Linked DNA regions of Homo sapiens: region 1 is linked to region 2. Evidence: promoter capture Hi-C in 16 types of primary human blood cells and fetal thymus (Javierre and others, 2016). All regions are on one chromosome and are shown on one strand. Each heading gives the region's core, a stretch centred on a gene start or on the middle of the fragment in contact. The rest is flanking DNA. Distances are from core to core; before and after follow the strand shown.

Region 1 (6,705 bases), core at 966-3,465, 2.1 Mb after region 2:
CTATTTATTCATCAAGAATCATCACACTCTCCTCCAGGAAGCCTCCTTAATTCTTCCAAAATGGTATGATTGCTCCCTTCACTCTCTGTCTTTCACCTTTGTCATGTTTAAAAATCTGCCTTGGCCAGGCGCGGTGGCTCACGCCTGCAATCCCAGTACTTTGGGAGGCTGAGGCGGGAGGATCACCTGAGGTCGGGAGTTCCAGACCTGCCTGACCAACATGCAGAAACCCCGTCTCTGCTAAAAATACAAAATTAGCAGGGCGTGGTGGCACATGCCTGTAATCCTAGCTACTCTGGAGGCTGGCCTTAGGCAGGAAAATCACTTGAATCCGGCAGGTGGAGGTTGCAGTGAGCTGAGATGGCTCCACTGCACTCCAGCCTGGGCAACAAGACCAAAACTCTGTCTCAAAAAAAAAAAAAAAAAAAAAATCTTCCTTGAAGCTGGGCGCAGTGGCTCATGCCTGTAATCCCAGCACTTTGGGAGTCCGAGGCGGGCAGACCATTTGAAGTCAGGATTTTAAGACCAGCCTGGCCAACATGGTGTAAACCCCAATTCTGTTAAAAATACGAAAATTAGCCAGGTGTGGTGGCACTGGCCTGTAATCCCAGCTACTCCAGAGGCTGAGGCAGGAGAATCACTAAAGCCTGGAAAGCGGAGGTTGCGGTGAGCCGAGGTCATGCCACTGCACTCCAGCCTGGGGAAAACTCCAGCCTGGGGGAAAGAGTGAGACCCTGTCCAAAAACAAAACAAAATAAAACAACCAAAAAAAAAAAAAACTGCCTTGTATCATTGTTAACAGGGTTGATCTTATCCAATTACATTCTTGAGTATAGGGAACAGGTGCACAATACCTATTCATTAAAATTAGATTAGTGGGATTTCCTTTAAAAGGTAGTGATGATGGCAGAACAGCTCTAGTTTGAGAAAAAACGAAAATAGGCAATTCTCTCATTTGTTCAACAAACATGGCTGCGCCGTCCAATATGAAAAGATTATAACTGTAAGTGAACCCTACTGTACCCTAGGGATCTCACCACTTGGGGAAAGAGATATGTAAATATATGCGATTAAATAGTGTGACTAAGAAGCATAAAATAAGTATGCACAAAGAAGAAAGGAAAAAACTATTGAGTAGTGGGTAGTGTTTCAAAGTAGTGGACATACAAGTATGAGCCGGGTTCATGGGGTTTCTTAAATGCCAAAGGAACTTGTAATTATTCTAAATGACAACGTGCACAATTTACATTAATGTATTCTTCATTCTGGCCAGGGGTGGTGGCTCACACCTGTAATCCCAAAACTTTGGGAGGCTGAGGTGGGAAGATTGCTTGAGCCAGGAGTTTGAGACCAGCCTGGCTAACATGGTGAAACCCTGTTTCTATTAAAAATACGAAAATTAGCCAGGTGTGGTGGCGCTGGCCTGTAATCCCAGCTACTAGGGAGGTTGAGGCAGGAAAATCGTTTGAACTCGGGAGGTGGAGGCTGCAGTGGGCCGAGATCTCACCACTGCACTCCAGTCTGGGCGACAGAGCGAGACTCCGTCTCAAAAAAAAAGAAAAAAAAAAGATAACTTTTTAAGGAAGGTTAATGCAGTTTGGGCCAGGGGCTCTACTTATTAGTTGCAGGGCTAACACAGACCCGGGAGAACTAGAACGGGATACAGGTGAGAGTTAACCGGTGGTGTGTGATGTGATGAAAACTAGGCAATGGGAAGGAGATCAACCTTTACCCGTCAGTCTTCTAATCTCAGCAAATCACTTCCATGAGTTGGTGTAGAAGGTGTCAGGGCTGACTAGGGTCCCTGCTGTGAGTGTGGGCACAACTCCAGGCACTTCCCCATCTCCCAGCCGGCCCAGCGAGGTGCCTGGAGAGCCCAGGCCAGATGTTCTGGCCAGGGCTGACGTCACGTTTGCATGACGTCACCAGCGCTGACGAACCACACAGAGAGGGGCCTGTCAGCTCACCTCAGAGCGCAGGCAACTTCTTAGAGCGGGGAACTGGCCGCCTCCTATTCTACCTTGACGGTCCGAATAGTCAGAGCTACAGGAGCCGAAGCGCCGAAGGAGCTCAGCAACCGCTACCTCCCTCTTTCCTTGGCCCTTATCCGCGTCTTCTCTAAGGCCCAGGAGCGGTCCCGGCAGCGGCGCGCTCACGAGTCCGCCGGTGGAGGCGGTCACGCGCACGCACGCTTGTGCGCAAGCCCGTTCCCTCAGAACCCGGAAGTGCGAGGCCGAGGAGAGCCACGTGGGTCGAGCTGGGGCGCAGCTCGCATGGGGGAGTCTATCCCGCTGGCCGCCCCGGTCCCGGTGGAACAGGCGGTGCTGGAGACGTTCTTCTCTCACCTGGGTATCTTCTCTTACGACAAGGCTAAGGACAATGTGGAGAAGGAACGAGAGGCCAACAAGAGCGCGGGGGGCAGCTGGCTGTCGCTGCTGGCGGCCTTGGCGCACCTGGCCGCGGCCGAGAAGGTCTATCACAGCCTCACCTACCTGGGGCAGAAACTAGGTACCTCCGCCCCGCCCCCCGAGCCCCTTGAGGAGGAAGTAAAGGGGGTATATTCCCCAGTCGGCAGTGGCTTGGGTTTCCCGTCTCTGTGTCACTTCTAGTCGCAGGCTCGACTCGGCATTCCCAGATCTCCTCCCACCGTTCCTTTCCTTCCCTGGGCTTCCACAAGCCCCGCCCACCGGCCTGCGCTGCTGATAGATTGGCGAACTGGGTAGATGCTCTTTGCAGGGCTGTGACCCAAACCGAAGGGTTTGCCCTTTTGCCTCGTGCATGGATTGATGCCATAAATGAGAAGTTAACCAAACTATGTCTTCATTGTTTTAATTAGTGACGCTGCAGCCAGAAGAGCAAAACTTTGCAAAACAACCTAGTTCTATTACTGAACACTGTTGTGTGGCCTCTTAAGGTTAAGGCCCGAGAGTCACATTTAGAGTCCTACCCCGTCTTCATAGTCCCCCAATACATATTTAATGACTAAAGTAATAAATGAATATTGGGCAGGAAAGGCAAGAAATATGCCTAACACTAGCAAGAAGAGACTTAAGGGGAAAATGGTAAACACTCTTAGCACTTCATGTACATCTTGCCTCTGAAATAAGATTCAAGAGCTGATTCAACTGATTTTTACTAGTAGAAGCAATAAGTATAAGTAGATGAGAAGGAAATAATAGATGTAAAAGGCATGGAATATGCATACAAAATAATATTACTGCTTAATTATGACAAATAAATATATTTGAATCCTAGGGGTTTCAGAGTCAGTACTTTGACCTGTTTTAGACTCTTCAATTTTCAGAAGCGTGAGGTCTGATGTGAATGAAGGACACGTATATAAAATACAGAGAATAGAAATGTAAAATTGGTGTAGATTTCATTTTGATCCACCCCCCCCCGTTCCCTAACCAGCCCCCTACTTTCCTTATATTGCCTGAAGGTGACCATGTACATCTTATTGAGCTTTCAGTAAACACTCAAGAGACAGGGCTTCCTGAGTTCGTAATTGCTGTAGCAAGTATGTTGATTTATACATACTTATTTAGTATGCTAATTTATTAGCAAAAACTGGTCAGATAGTTTCACCTTATTTTTTTCCTCCCCTTTTTACAATGGCATTTCTCACAAATTTGCAGTTGCTGCTATGGTGTTATTATTCCCCTTTCTATAGATTAGCAAATTATATATGCAGTTATGTTGGGTAGATGATAGAGTCGAAACCAAAATATCTGCCCTTGTACTCTCAGATTGAGTTTGCATTCATATAACTTATTAAAAATGTGTATGAAAATTATAATTTATGTATAATATATACAGATATATGTTTTTTATATATGTGAAAATGGGGTGGATTCTAGCTGTAATACTGAAGGTAGGTAATATTTAGGCAGTTTCAGTTGTTTTTAGACTCCCCCACCTCAAAGAATGGTGACTGATTCAAGTGCCATGATTCTTTGCTTTTTTTTTTTATTAACTTATCCATGGAAATTTGATGAAAGCTGTGTACTTACTCTCCAGAAAAATATATATGTACATATAATTTTGCGTATAACCTGAGTGGGTTCAGTTGAATTTTCTAAAGTCTATTTATTGACTCCATTTAAAAAAATCTGCTACTCTAGTTTTAAGTTGAATGAGCCAGGTTTTTACGTAAACAGAACTGGCTGCCCTGTGTGTAAGAATGTGTGTATAAGATCTTCACTGTCTCTGACTTGGGTTCTGTAAAGTGGTCCTCAATGTGTAAATTGATTAGTTCTGCTTGAACCCCAGCTGGCATGGGTGAGCATGAGGACTATGCCTTGAAACTGACCTATACAACATTTGGTGCTGTGAAACATGCCCAGGCACTGTTACGTTCCTAGGTGGGCTCCTCATTTCTGAGTAAATATTCTGAAAATGGTATATTTAATGCTTCATAACTTATTTACACGTACAGTAAACATAAGTTCCAGAATTTAAATTTTATCTTTGCACATTTTTTTGGGTACTGGAGTGTATATGATATCAGTGTGCTTACAATACGACTACACAATTACCCGGTTTACTATTTTCTTAAAAACTTCAGGAGAAAACTTTCGTGTTGCCATTTAAAACATTCCCATGTTCTCCAACTACTTTGCTCATTAGAACATTTATATAGTTTTCTTTAGAAAGCAAAACAAAAAGTTTATGCGTGCGTTTAAAAAATTTAAAACAATTCTGAAAAGTTTTTTTAGCCTTACTGAGATATAATTGACAAATAAAACTATATATATTTAAGATGTACAACTTGATGTTTTGATGTATATGTAAATTGTGAAATAATCACCACAATCAAGCTACTTAGTATATCCATCACCTTACATAGTTATCTTCCTTCCTTCCTTCTTTCTTTCATGTGTATATTGTGAGAATACTTAAGATCTACTCTCTTAGCAAATTTCAAGTAAAAAGGGAGTCTTTTTTTACCTCTCTTATGGATGGTATTTATTTGAGGCCTTAGCAGTGAATCCTGATTAAAGAAGCAAGCAGGGCCTTTAGACAAAGGATAGACCTTGACAGGGAGCTTTCTTTTCCTGTCTTGACCCTGTTACTGAAAAACTTCGAGTAGGGCCCTTATCTTGGTTCCTTCTCTTTCCTTTAAGAGAGAATAATACCTGTTTGGGGAAGGATCAGTGATTAAAATATGCTGACTCAATGCCTGTGGAGAATTTTAGAAGGTCATACTTTTCTTCCCTTTGTTTCATTACTGGAGAGTTTCCTCAACCTTGGGTTGCTGAAATTTAGCATAGTAGAAAATGACTTAACTTGAGAACTGATGTTTAAAAAGTATTATTAGCAAGAAGTTGGAGAATAAAATGCCCAAGATGTTTTACACGTTCCTTCAATACACTTAAAATTTCATGACATGAGATGAACTTGAAATCTTGAGAAATTATGAGCATTTATAACTAGAGCCTTCTAAAAATCATTCAAAGTAATCATATTTTTTAAATTAAAAATATTGAAAAGAGAAAGAAGTTGGATGTTTCTGATTCCTTGTTTTCCAGCATGAAGAAAGGTCAGTCCCCGCTGGATATTCCAAACCAAGATAGTGAACAGATAGGATTGGGTTCCTGAGAGCTTTGAGAAAAGAGAACTGTTTGAAAGAAATGTGTTGATGGTCTATCTCTTCCTTAGAGTAGTTTCACTTTACTTGGTTTCACATGCTGGTGATTAGCGTTTACCGATAAGCTTTTAAAGGTATTCTTTGTATTTATGTAGTGTTTCCGTTCCCCCAGATAGGGGTAATCTGATGAAGTTAGGTATCCTTTTTTTTTTTTCTCCCATAAGTCCTAGAGACAGATGATATCCCTTTTTCAATGTGAAGTTAAAATTTTCACCAAGGCCACCCCGTTTAATAGTACTAGATAGCTATTCTTTTTGTAGTATTTGAAGCTCCCAATTCACCACAGTTTCAGAAGCTCAATTATGTATTATTATTAGGAGTTTTAAAAAATGTATCAGTTATAAATAGAAGGGAAAGGAATTAGTATTATAGAATATATTCTTTGTTCCAGGCACATTACACACCAAATGTTATTTCATTTGTTTTTTTTAGCTCTATCACCAGTTTTATGTTAAAAATGACAGCTAAAGCTCAAAGTGGTTCAGTAGTTTGCACATCAACATAGCCTGTAATTGTGGGAGCTGGGGTTTGAAACCAAGTCTTTCAGACCTCCACAGCTTTTAGGTTTTATATGATACTCTTATTACCCTCCTAAGCCGAGAGGTTTTATCCTAGATGTGGGCACAGAGGTCTATTTATGTTGTACCCTTCACTGTACAAAATCAGCAGAGCTAAACTGAATATGGGCATGGGAGGAAGGCAAACCCTGTAGGGAACAGTTCCGTATGAGATATTGGTGTCACATCTGGTCCACCTGTACCCATATGGACTTTAATTGTATTAGTTGGAGAAATGATGTGCCAGCTACTCAATCTGTTTGGAACAAGCTTGTCCAACCTGTGGCCTGCGGGCCACATGCAGTCCAGGATGGCTTTGAATGCGGCCCAACACAAATTCATAAACTAACTTTCTTTCTTTCTCTTTCTTTCTTCCTTCCTTCCTTCCTTTCTTCTTTTCTTTTCTTTCCTTTGGTTTCCTTTCCTTTCTTTTCTTTTCTTTCCTTTCCTTTTCTTCCTTCCTTCCTTCTTTCTTTTCTTTTCTTTTCTTCTTTTCTT
Region 2 (7,094 bases), core at 2,579-5,078:
AGTAAAACATAAATGAACCCAAAGAATGACTGATTTGAAGTACTTTCTCATTTTGCACAACCGATTCAAGAAACCCAAGTCAAAAACAGATTAGTACACTTGCTTTAACCAGTAAGAAAATTTTGATCATATTATGACAATTGCTTTTGTACTGAGATGGTTTTCATTGTGTTTAACACCAAAATTTATGTTCTTTAAATGCTTAAATAATGATTTCTTAGCCTTTTGTTTCCTACTGCCTGCACTATAACAGAATAAAAATTCTGACTCAATTATATAAAGATAAATTTAAAGCTAAGGATATAAAATAATTTACATAGTAACCTTCATAATCATTTTCTATAATCATAATCTTTTGTCATTGAAATCATTCATTGATGTACCATCAAATTTATTTGATACAATTAGGAAATGAAATATTCCATATATATGAATATCCAGATAACAAATCATATTAAAAATTACTTGAAACCATTTTGGACTGAAGTATTTCCTAAATGTATTATTCACATCCTTGTCGTTCTTCTCTACCTCTTTAAACAGAATCATTTACAACTGATTTTTTTTTTTTTTTAACTGAGACGGTGTCTCACTCTCACCTAGGCTGGAGTACAGTGGTGCAATCATGGCTCACTGCAGCCTCCATTTCCTAGGCTCAAGTGATCCTCCTGCCTCATCCTCCCAAGTAGCTGGGACTACAGGTATATATCACCACACCTGGCTAATTTTTAAAAAATTTTTTGTAGAGACAAGGTCTCACTACATTGCTCAGGCTAGTCTCGATCTCCTGCGCTCAAGTGATCCTCCTGCCTCAGTCTCCCAAAGTGGGATTACAGACGTGAGCAGCTACCACACCTGGCCAGCAACTGAATTTTTTTTTATTAATGATTCAAGGTAATCGCTGTGAATACAAAAGTTAGAAAGAGAGATTAAAATCACAGTTTTAGAGGTGGAAAGGAACTGGAAGATTTTAAAGATCAGCTCATATAATCCCTTCATGCTACAGATGAGAAACCTGAAATGTCAATGGCATACTCCAAAAGCAACATAAACACATTTTTCACCAAATGGATTTTTAAAAAGAATACTATGCTAGTGGTAACATTTTAAACACTGTAGTTATTAAGTATGTCAATTACACTGAAAGTTGATGATAAAAATCACACTTACTTGTGTTTTCCAGAGGAAGACTCATCTCATTGTCTAGGAACAACTCTTCCTGACCATTCTGTGTAGGCTGCTTTTGATCTTTCCTTCCAGTTTCCTTGTGGAAAGTTCTTAGTGTTTCCCTAAGATTTTCAAAGTTTAGGTTTTTGTAGTTTGATACCTCCTTTACCCATGTTAAAAATTTATTAACATCATCACTGGAGACCTCACACTCTTTAAGAAAGAGAGCACAGATATGTTTTTGATTTGGTGGTGACATATCAGACTGCAAAAAGTAAGACGGAAATCCTTGAACTTGATATTGATAGCTCCTTGATCCCACCACAGGCTTTACTTGTACCTTCACTCTCCACCAAGCACCTGTTATCGGAAAACGTCCAAACACTTTACATGTCTCTTGTGTGTTTTCATCACAAATAGAAACTAAAAAAAAACAAACAAAAACCCACAAAAGTTAACTCTGGAGATTATTTAGAAACCGTTTCCTCAAAGTTTCATCAAACTTACCACTATCTTTAATCTCCCTACAGCACTCTCTAAAGATGTCTGGTAGGGTGCCTGTAACACTGCATTCTGCCTACCTCTTTTTCTGTCTCCCTCCACTACACTGTAAATACTAAAACAGGACACTGTTTCGTTTGTCTTTGTATTCCAAAACGCAAGCACAGTACACAGCAGGTGTCTGCTGTTCCTCTTCTAAAATCAGTCCCCTCTCTGCTACTCTTGACTTCAGCCAATACTGGCCTTCATGCAGTTTCTTTAAAATGCCATGGCCCTTCACTCAAGTTATTCCATCTGCCTTAACTGATCTCCCCTTTACTGTTTACTACATTTACTACAGACCTCAGCTTAACTATCACTTACTTAGAAAAGTCTTCCCTGAATCTCATGTATAAAACCTCTCAAAGCACTATTTAGCATTCCTTCTAAGCATTTAGTAACATTATAGTTACTTCTGTGATTAAAGAATGTTTGTTTAATACACTAGAGGGTAAGCTTCATTAAGACTGCAACCTTGTTATTTTATTTCTCTAGGTTTTCCCAGCACCAAACATGCTAGCCAGTTGATGATACTTTAGAATGACGACTAAGCCCTCCACAAATACTTGAAACTTTTCTGCCTAAATCTGCGCTGTCCACCCACGTGGCTATTTAAATTAAAATGTAATAAAACTTAAAATTTCTCTCCTCAGTTACACTAGCTGGATTTCAAGTTCTAAACAGCTACATATGGCTAGTGGCTATTATACCAGACAGTGCAGATATAAAACACTGCCATGATCATGGAAAGTTCTACTGAACAGCACCGGTCGGCACATTAAAATATTTTAAGTCTCAGTCACAAAGTATACATAACAGGTATAACTTATAGCACAGGAAACTACCTCATAGCACAGGAAACTACTTATACAAGGTTTACCCGAACCACAAGGTTACTAACACCAATTAACAATCATCTGTGCACTGAGGTGTTCCTTGTGTTTCGTTTTTCTTTTTCTTTTCTTTCCTTTTCGTTTTTTGAGATGGAGTTTCATTCTTGTTGCCCAGGCCGGAGTGCAATGGTGTGATCTCAGCTCACTGCAACCCCCACCTCCTGGGTTCAAGCAATTCTCCTGCCTCGGCCTCCCAAGTAGCTAGGATTACAGGTGTGCGACATCACGCCCGGCTAATTTTGTAGTTTTGTTGTTGTTGTTGTTGTTTTACTAGAGACAGGTTTCACCATGTTGGTCAGGCTGGTCTCGAACTCCTGACCTCAAGTGATCCACCTGCCTCGGCCTCCCAAAGTGCGTGAGCCACCGCGCCCGGACTGTTTTGTTTTTCCAAGAAGCTGAGGAAGAACCACGTATTTGACTCCAGGCAATATAGGATAATAATTACAAGTTCTCATTCTATAGAACTTGAGGATAAGTGGTCAGAAGGAAAAATAAAAGTTCCGATTCTGGGTGGAAATAGAGACTCAACATCCACTGTTTCCTTAAGCGTAAAACTACCTTACATTAAAGGTACATTAAATTAAAGGACGACCATTAAAATGAGAATAATTTTAAAAAAAAAAAAAAAAAAAAAGGGCAACCCGCTCGGGTCCCCTTCCACACTGTAGAAGCTTTGTTCTTTCGCTCTTTGCAATAAATCTTGCTGCTGCTCAAAAAAAGAAAAAAAAAAAAAAACCACATAGTATGTGTCCAGTTAAAGTCACTGCTATTATTATAGTCATAATTTTACCCTTGGTAGGATGAAGCAGCTAGACCACTGATAAGCTAAATCTGTTAGCACGACTGGGTGCCTTGCTCAGGGCAAAGCCAGAATGGGAAGCGCTACTTTGGACCCTCCAACCCCATCCCCCGGGCAGACGCCTTCCTCACCGCGGAGGCACCCGGGGAGGCTGCCAGCCTTTACGCCCCCACTGCAGAGCTCCTCGGCGTCGATGAACACGGACTCTTCATCCTCCTCCACGTCGTCGTTTAGGTAGTCGTCGTCCTCCTCCACCAGATCCCTGGGTGGGAGCAGAGGTCCCTGAAGTTGGCGCAGGTACGGACTCGACCTGGCCATGCTTCTCCTGAACTCAACCCAAACAACTCGGGAAAACCCTGGCTAACTGCATGGTCATGATCAGCCAATCAGTTCTACGACTGTAAGGCCATCAACTTCCGGGAACGGCCTGGCGGCCGCCAGCGTACATAAAACCTGAAAGGCAGCGAAGCTCCGCCCCAAGTTTCCAGGAATTGCCGAGGGGAGGGCATGTGGAAGGGGCGGGGCAAGGCGGGTTAGGGGCGGGGAAGGGAGAGCGAGGGGCTGGGAGATGGGCGGGGCTTCCGCTCCTTTTGGAGCCTGGTGCTGGGCGGTGATTATCAGGAAGGTGCTGGGACGAAATCAGCGCTGGGGAGTGACAGGCGTGGCACCTGCAGAACCGCCAGTGCACGGCATCTCCTGCGGAGAGAGAACGGGGAGAAAGTCCACTTCTGCTGAGCTTGAAGAACCTGGAAAAGCAACCCCCACCCCAACCTTCCCAAAACGAAAGTATAGCAGATGCCCTTCTGGAATCGGATCTAGGGCAGGGACCTAGAATTCTGTCTTTTTAATGTACATTCCGGGCTGTCCATTTTGATGCTCAGCTAGGTTTGGACACCACTGGATTAGATAACATTCAAAGTTATTTTTATCCTTTCCTCTGTGAGTACACCCTGGTCTCCCAAACTTATTTAAGCTGGGCTGCTACCTGCTGACAGTGGGGCAAAAGTGTCTCTTTGCAGCCCAGAGTATAGACAGGAATAGGAGAAGGGAAATAGAAGAGAAAGGAACGTGGTTTTAAAAACTATTATGGGGCTATGATTCTCTTACTTGATGAGGATGGTACTTGAAAGTCTTGGTACTATTTAAGAAATACCATAAATATATTACTACATTACTGTATTGATACTGTTTATTTTGGGATTATTCCTGAAATAACTAAACACACACTATTTACTAAATCCAAAAGCACCTGATGCTATATTTAAATATATATAAACGACAACTAGCACCAAATATTTAAGAAAAATGTATAGGAGAAAATATAAAAATTGATTTCTTTTCCTTTGGGTACCAATTGAAAAATGCCCACTTTTGTTGCTTTTAAAAGAAATACTGTTGCAGCTGACAAAACACCAGTGTTTCCAAGGATTGGCTATATGAGGTTGAATTCCTTTGACATTCACATGGCTACTGTTTCCACCACAACATTGAATCTCCTCTGACAAATGTCACACTTACTGTCCTCTTCGTTTCAAAAACCAGTGGATACTTTTCAGCCTTTGTTTTACCTGACCTCTCAGCAGTATTTGATACTGATAAGTATTTTCTTCTTGTAGCATTCTGCTGCCGGGGCTTTTGCAGCTTGCCTTCTCAGATTTTTCTCCTTTCTGGCTATTTACAGTCTTGGACCCCTCTGCTTGCCTGTAAGTACTGTTATTCCCCAAGGCTCCATCCCAAGCATCTTCTTGCTCTATAATCCTTTCCTCAATCATCCTTCACCTACATGCTAATGACTCAGCCTAATCTGATCTCCAAACCATACAAACAACTGCCTAAACACTGTCAGTCACTACTGGATGCCCCTTGGCTACTTAAGACTCAGCATATCTAAACTGCAACTTATCATTGGCTTCCCAAATCTGGGTCACTTATGAGTATATACATGGGATATTCTTGTTACCAACATGATGACTTGGGCACAAGAATCAACTCTAGATCTCTAGATGTTAAACTTTTTTTTCTTTCTCTCTTTTTTTTTGGGGGGTGGGGGGACAAGGTCTCATTGTGTTGCTCAAGCTGGTCTTGAACTCCTAAAGTCAAGTGATCCTCCTGCCTCAGTCTACCAAGGTGCTAGGATTACAGATGTGAGCCACTACACAGCACAGGTGTTCAACTCCTCCTCCCTTTTTTTTTTTTTTTTTTTTGGTACAGGTCTATAGTGGCACCATCTCAGCTCACTGAGGCCTTGACCTCCCAGCAGGCTCAAGTGATCGTCCCATATCAGCCTCTCAAGTAGCTGGGACCACAGGCTCACACCACTAAGCCCGGCTAATTTTTTGCAATTTTTTGTAGAAACAGGGTTTCGCCATGGTGTCCAGACTGGTGTCGAACTCCTGAACTCAAGTAATCTGCCGGCCTCGGCCTCCCAAAGTGCTGGGATTACAGGCGTGAGCCATTGCACCTGGTCACTATATGTTCAGCTTCTATTCATATAGTTCAATTGCATTTTATTGGATAGTGTAGATAGGAATTTAGGATGATAAGAATCTTACTTCTTTACCTATTGTTTTCTCATTCTTTTAAAAAAAAAGTTAACAATTCTGGCTTTCTGGATACCATCTTTACCATACATAGTAAGCAGTGGTACTCAAATCTGGCTGTGCATCAAAATCACTTGGGATGTGTTCTAAAATTGAGATACCTGGATCTACCCTGAAGCTACACTTCCCAAAACAAAAAACAACATAGACATAGGTTATCTACTGTGTGATTTTTGTAATAGCAAATTATTGGAAATAGCAGAGATGTTGAACAGCAAGAGACTAATGAAATAAACTGTAGTACATCCACACAATGGAGTATTCTTCAGCTATTTTTTTTATAAAAAGAAAGAAAGATTGCCACAAATTGGTAGGGAGTAGTTTCCAAGATACTGTTTTAAATTAGAGAAAGCAAGATGTAAAACAATGCATATCATTTTATTTGTATGTGTCAGTGTTACGAAAAAAAAAAAAATCACATGAAAGATAAACCACAAGTTAATGAAAATAGCCAGGAATGGTGGCTCGTGCCTCTAATTCCAGCACTTTGAGAGGCCAGGGTAGGAGGATTGCTTGAGCCCAGGAGTTTCAGACCAGGTTGGGCAAAATAGCAAGACCTTGTCTCAAAAAAATAAATAAATTAGCCAGACACAGTGGCGTGTGCCTGTAGTCCAGCTACCCTGGAGGCTGATGTGAGAGGATTGCATGAGCCCAGGAGGTTGAGGCTGCAGTGAGCCAGAAGAAGGTGAAGGAGGAGAAGGAGGAGGAGGAGGGGGAGGTGGAGGGGGAAGAAATTGATGAAAATAGTTACCCACAGAGGAGATGGAAACATGATAGGACAGAAAGGGGATACGGACAAGAGCTCTGAGATTAATTTATTATGTAGTTTGACTTCTGAATCATGTAAATGTTGTACACATTCAAAAAATAAAAGAAACAAAAGCAAAACAGAAAATTGAACACAAACAGAAACAAACAAATCTATCAAGTGAATTGCATAACCACTAAGAGAAAATAATCATTTCAAGTTATGTTTCAATACTTTGGGTAAATATTTTAAGTTATTCTAACTGTACACCCCTGGTAGGTTATACTCTGCAGACAAAAGATCTAAAAAATGATCTTAAACTTCACTCATTATGGTTAATGTTTGTT

The links. The method cuts DNA at HindIII sites, captures the fragments that hold promoters and counts their contacts. A CHiCAGO score of 5 or more calls a contact.
Region 1: the fragment with the promoter of KICS2 here is called in contact with the fragment with the promoter of HELB in region 2 in 1 of 17 cell types (total CD4 T cells); the score reaches 5.2 in total CD4 T cells.

Annotation. Positions count from the first base shown.
Region 1 is chr12:64,217,806-64,224,510 of GRCh38, reverse strand. KICS2 (KICSTOR subunit 2) reads left to right here and starts at 2,215. Exons shown (of 3, transcript NM_152440.5): 1 at 2,215-2,508. The coding sequence starts at 2,274. It overlaps LOC124902952 (a long non-coding RNA gene), which reads right to left and starts at 2,162. Exons shown (of 2, transcript XR_007063347.1): 1 at 1,968-2,162. RefSeq lists enhancers at 1,762-1,821, 1,902-2,091, 2,242-2,331, 1,813-2,407, 2,442-2,501 and 1 more. The HindIII fragment of the contact is 7,597 bases long and covers 1-5,717 here.
Region 2 is chr12:66,299,227-66,306,320 of GRCh38, reverse strand. HELB (DNA helicase B) reads right to left here and starts at 3,828. Exons shown (of 13, transcript NM_001370285.1): 1 at 3,531-3,828; 2 at 1,171-1,590. The coding sequence starts at 3,717. RefSeq lists enhancers at 2,498-2,807, 2,838-2,937, 3,569-3,648, 3,709-3,758. The HindIII fragment of the contact is 5,857 bases long and covers 3,274-7,094 here.